Linked DNA regions of Homo sapiens: region 2 is linked to region 1. The links are contacts of gene promoters, found by promoter capture Hi-C in blood cells and fetal thymus (Javierre and others, 2016). All regions are on one chromosome and are shown on one strand. The core of a region is centred on a gene start or on the middle of the fragment in contact, and the rest is flanking DNA. Distances in the headings are between cores, read along the strand shown.

Region 1 (2,700 bases), core at 143-2,642:
CCTGACAGGTGGCAACTGCAGGGGAGAAGGGACCCTGTGGATATTTCTGAATGTCACTGGACCCATCAATGTCTGTTTCCTTCAGGCTGCCCATGTCAATGACCCATCAATGTTGTGTGATGGGCCAGGCTGTGCCATGCAAGAGTGTCATGGTCTGTGCCCCTGATTACTCCCCCTCACGGCTCAAAGAGGAGGACCCAAGCTAATGTGAAAATCACAGGCACTGTGATTGGGTGCTAGATGAAACTTCACGCAGGGACCCGGCCAGCCCTGCGACCTCCCTGAGGGCGACGGCTGGGGACATGGGTCATGTCCACAGATTAGTCTCAGGGAAAAGGAGGATGCACCTGACTTCAAGGCCCGTAGCTTCCACACACTCCCCCCTCATCCTGGACATGTGTCCTCACCTGAACAATGGCCCCATGACTGGTTGTGCCTCATGGGACCCAGGAGATGGAGAGACGCAGCCACACCTCATAGGAGCAGGGCGGCCAGCCTCATTCTCTGCCAAATCCGCAGCGCCCAGCACAGTATCTGGCACATGACAGGCACTCCAGCATCGCTGAGTGCACAGGTTAACAAAAAGCATAAAGTACCTACTAGGCTCCTTCCCCTGCTCTGGTTATTGCATGGGTTCCGCCTAGAGGACTTAACTGAAATGTAAAGAATTGTTGAGAAGAAGGAAACTCCAGGTTTTTGTTTTTGGTTTTGTTTTTTTTTTTTGAGACGGAGTCTCGCTCTGTTGCCCAGGCTGGAGTGCAGTGGCGCCATCTCGGCTCACTGCAAGCTCCGCCTCCCAGGTTCACGCCATTCTCCTGCCTCAGCCTCCCAAGTAGCTGGGACTACAGGCACCCGCCACCATGACCGGCTAACTCAGTCACTGCAGGCAAGTTCAGCTCCGAGGTCTTCCACTCATCCACCGAAATGGACAGAGGATTCCTCTTCTCGCGGTTTCAGAGTCCCTTTGTTAGGGGCGGCTCTGGAATTCTATGTAGAAGGGAACTGACGGGTAGCAACCTAGGAAACTCATTAAAGCTGCATTGCAATAGCAAACGCAATATATTTATTTAGCTTGTGTGATCTAAACTTTTAAAAATATCAATCTTTCCAATTCACACTTCCCATAAAAATTGAAGAACGTATATTTTAAGGTGGTTTAAAGGGGCTGTTGGGGATTATTAGGAGTAAAAGGCATTGCACAGAGGCCATCTCAGAGCGCCATCGCCAAGATTGGGTGGTCTCCGGACGCAGGCACAACCTGGAGATAAAGAGGCTCGCGCTTGGTACCCGCCCCTTTGCGAAGGGCAGGTGACACCTAGGCTGCGGGCGGGCGGGGGACCCAATTTCGCATGCGCGGGGCGGTGTTGGGGGGCGGGGCGAGCGGCTGCCTCGCGGATTCGCGCGGGTGGTGAGAGTGGCCAGCGAGGGCAGCGTTCGCCGCCCCTCAGGCCCCGTCCCGGCGCCGCAGCCGCCTGCGTTTCGGTTTGTGAGCAGGCCCGGCCGGGCCAGGAGCGAGAGCGAGACTCTGGAGCGGTCGCCGCCGCAGTCGCCCGGGCCGGGAAAGGCGGGCGATGCCCCCAACCGCCGCTCGGGCCATGTCCGAGGGGCGCGCGTGTTGTCGCCGCCGGGGCGCCGTGCCCGCCTGTCGTCCCCCGGGCCCAGCCGCTCGTCCGAGGCCCGCGAGGAGCTGCGCCGCCACCTCGTGGGCCTCATCGAGCGCAGCCGGGTGGTGATCTTCAGCAAGAGCTACTGTCCCCATAGTACTCGGGTAGGCGCGGCCCTCGCCGGTTCCACCGCGCGCGACCGGGCCCGCCACGCGGACGCCACCCGGGGCAGGGCGGGTCCGGGCCGGGGCGCCCGCGGGTCCCGGGCTGCGGCGGTGAGGTCAGCCGTCCGTCCTCTCCTCTCCCCGGTCGTCCCCTGAGGTGGGCTTGTGATAGTTTATCAAAACAGAAACTCTCCTAATTGCGTGACCTCGACCCGGGTTAGGACCCTGTGCAGAGCCTCAGTTCCCCCGTTTGTGAAACGAAGGTACGGGAAGGTTGTTAGGACGACTGAGGTAATTTCAGCTTCATGCACACTGCCTTAACTTTTCGGGGCGGACTAGGAATCCGGCATTATTTCTAAGGACAAATGTATTCTGTGTTTAAGAATACTTCACTTAGAAACGAGCCTTTGGGTGATAACCTACGTGTAAGGTACAGACTTTCAACGTTTAGGAATTTACTTCATTTTACAGAAAGTTGAAAAATGATACGTGGAAGACAGTATGCAAAAGCATAAACTATTGGGTTGAGTTCATGAAATTATAGGCTGTGTTTTTCAAATATATTTGAAGTTTACATTGATGTGTATAGTTTCTTAAAACATATATTATGCATATATATTTTTAAGAATAATAAAGTGACACTAGTACTGTAGAAGCTTCCTTGGCTGTCTCCTCCCTCCCTCAGGGTTAACCACTATGCAAAATTTCCTTTTTTTTTTTTTACATTTTTACCAAATATATATATTATTCATCAATATTTGGTTCCTTTTGGCCTGTTTTGGGACTTGATATAAATAGAACCATACATACATAGGTATTCTTCTGCAGTTTTCTTCCTCAACAGTTATGTTTCAGAGATTCATGCATGTTAGTATCTGTAGCTGGGGTTCATTAATTTTCGTTGCTGACTATTCCCTGGGATGAATCGTACC
Region 2 (2,700 bases), core at 147-2,646, 160 kb after region 1:
ATGGAGGTGAGAAAGGCAAATGCCACTTACTGTCAAGCTCACTGTGGGGTGCAGAGGTGGGAGGGGCTGAGCACTGTCAGCTGGCACTCTCCGGAGAGGGAGGGCTGCCCAGGAGGAGGCACCCCCTGGCCTAGCAAGTGCAGGAGCCCAGGGAGGGCCCAGGCCACGGCATCCTCCCCCCAGGACAGCCCTGTCCTGGAGCCTGGCTCCTGGGAAGATAAGCTCACCTAGGGCGAGTTCCCCAAGGCTACAGCCCCAGGTTGACTCTCCTCTCAATGTGACTGTCACTTTTAGGTGATGGATTTTCTTGTCATCTGTAACAGCAATTGGGGTCATTTCTGTTTGCCCAGGTCCCAGCTCCCCACTCCTGTAGCTAGAGATGGTACAGCCAGGAGGCAGGGATGGAGGGCTGGGGGCACTGGGACACAGAGAGGGGACAGGGAGGCCCCTGGAACTTTCTGTCCAATGACAGCTTAGGGGGTTCCACACCTGACTTCTGGATGCTGAGCCCTCCTCCCTGGCATGCTCACACCTGCACCCCCTCCCCCAACAAGCCAGCGGGCCCAGGGTGAGGAGGCATCTGTGCTTGCAGGGACATATTCTCCCAGGGATTTGGGCCTTTCCGCTGGGTGTGCACATCGGGGGACCCCCAGGACCTGGCGGTCACAGACGAACTGGCCACATCTGTGCTGGAGGAAGCCATTGCTGATGGAGGTGACGCCATTGGTGGGGATGCCCATGGGTGGGTGGCCCCCCCAAAGCTTCTGCCTCCATAGAGACAAGCTTCTATAGCAGGCCCACCTAGCTAATTCTGGGAGGGAACCTGGGCGCAGATGACTTTGTGAGTCTGGTGGGTGCTCAGCTGGCAACACAAAGGGACTTAAAGAAACTTGAGTGAGTTGCAAAGATCCTGGTCCCCAAGTGTCGTTCTCAGCCGTGGAGGCACAGGCCCCACCCACACCAAGCCTCTGCCCTCCAGAGCTGTCCTGGGCTCTGCCAGTGAGGACCTCTGGCTGCGAGTGACAGAAAGCCCCTCAAAGCGGCTGAAGCAGGACGGTCCAGGGCTAGGGTGGCCAGGCAGCAGTGGCCGGGGCCAGGCTTTCTGGGCAGCCCGCAGCACACCACAGTCCCTCTCAGACCCAGCCTCCCCCTCCACGTGGCCAGGGCAGTGCTGACAGCAGTGCTTCTAGTTCCTTCTTGCTGTCTTCCATGATGAAGCTGTCTCCACATGCTCCCGCCAGCCTTCCACGCCTGCCAGGTCCACAAGGGTCTCCTCTGCATCAGGGTCCCCCATGTTCATCCTGGGTTTTGCTGATGCTGAGTGTTGGTTCTGCCAGAGGGTTGTGTTTTTCCATGTCTACATGGCCTGCCTGGGTTTTAACCAACCTTTGTTCTCGTTGAGTGGGTCTGACGTTGTTGTTTCATGGTTATTTTATGACACTTCCTCTGTTGTTGCAGTTCTTACCCCGGTCTCTCTGCAGCTTTCCTGCAGGTCGGGTGGCTTTTCTGTGTGGTTCACCAGCCTCTGCTGTGTGCTTCACATCTCTAGGGCCCTTACACCCTGCTGCTGGCCATGTTCGGTGGGCTGGGCAGGGGCCCAGGTTACACAGACTCAGAGTAGGAGAGCCAGGCAGAGGGGAGACGTGGTCACCTGTGGAGGAGGAGGCGGGCAGGGGCCCAGGCAGGAGGGCAGGGGAAGCAGGGGCCTTCTCCTGGGGGTCTGGTCAGATGTCTCCTGGGCTTCCCTGGTGTGAGAACAGCAGGCAGCCAGTGGGGAACGACCAGCCCTCCGGAAAGAAGCCCTGAGCTGCTGCACCCACGAAGACCCTGGAGTAAAGACTCCAGGCCTGGCTGGTTTCCAGGCGTGCTGACCCAGCTCCACATGCCCGCAGCACATGCCCTGCGGCATCTCCACCAGGCAGATACTCTAGTCGAAGGCTGTGAAGTCACAGGAGTGAGGGATTTCTATTACCTTCATTTTAATATAATTTGGTAAAAGTGTAAGCTTATTTAAAATTTTAATGATATTTATGTTAACCACTGGCTCCCACAATTTCTGGAAAATTACCAGTCTGCTTTCACGAGCTGGTCAGGCTGGCTCCTGTGCCCTCTCACATGCACACATACTCCGTGAGCTTGGCCAGGTAGCTCCTGCATAGGCCAAGTTTATTTTCACCTCAGGGCCTTTGCACTGACTGTTCCCTCTGCCTGGAAGGCTGTTCCCTCAGAGCTTCCTTGTCCGGTTCCTTCCCAGCCTTTAGACTCAGCTTGATGGCCACTTCCTCAGAAAGCCCCCGCATCCACCATCCTGGGGAGCCCTCAACACAGTCCTGTGTTCCTCACGGCCCACAGCGGTCTTTGTTCCTGGTGCCTTGCTCAGTGTTGGTGTATAGTAGGCACTGAATAGCTATTTGTGGAGGGACCGAGTGCATCAGGCAGTGCGCTGCACGGCTGTGCATTATTAATTCATGGGGCCACTGGCACTGCTGGTCCCCAAGTTCACAAAGGCAGGGGTGGGGTGGGGTGGGCTCCCTCACCTTGTGTCCTAGCTCAGTGGTGGGCTCGGGGCAGGGTCTGTGCTGAGCTGAGCAGCCTGCCTGAGGGCAGGTCTGTGCCCCTGGAGGGTCTCTGACGCCTGCTGTCCTCTCTCCTGCAGTGAAGGTGTCTGTGAAGCTGCAGTACATGGACAACATCCGCTGG

The links. The method cuts DNA at HindIII sites, captures the fragments that hold promoters and counts their contacts. A CHiCAGO score of 5 or more calls a contact.
Region 2: a contact is called between a fragment that was not itself captured here and the fragment with the promoter of TXNRD3 in region 1, in 1 of 17 cell types (megakaryocytes). The highest score is 6.4, in megakaryocytes.

Annotation. Positions count from the first base shown.
Region 1 is chr3:126,653,816-126,656,515 of GRCh38, reverse strand. It overlaps TXNRD3 (thioredoxin reductase 3), which reads left to right and starts at 1,392. Exons shown (of 16, transcript NM_052883.3): 1 at 1,392-1,768. The coding sequence starts at 1,526. The HindIII fragment of the contact is 4,771 bases long and covers 1-2,426 here.
Region 2 is chr3:126,496,065-126,498,764 of GRCh38, reverse strand. UROC1 (urocanate hydratase 1) reads left to right here. Exons shown (of 20, transcript NM_144639.3): 14 at 593-714; 15 at 2,657-2,700. Among named protein-coding and RNA genes, the nearest start is that of UROC1, 20 kb to the left of the region's middle. RefSeq lists an enhancer at 386-1,263. The HindIII fragment of the contact is 1,222 bases long and covers 786-2,007 here.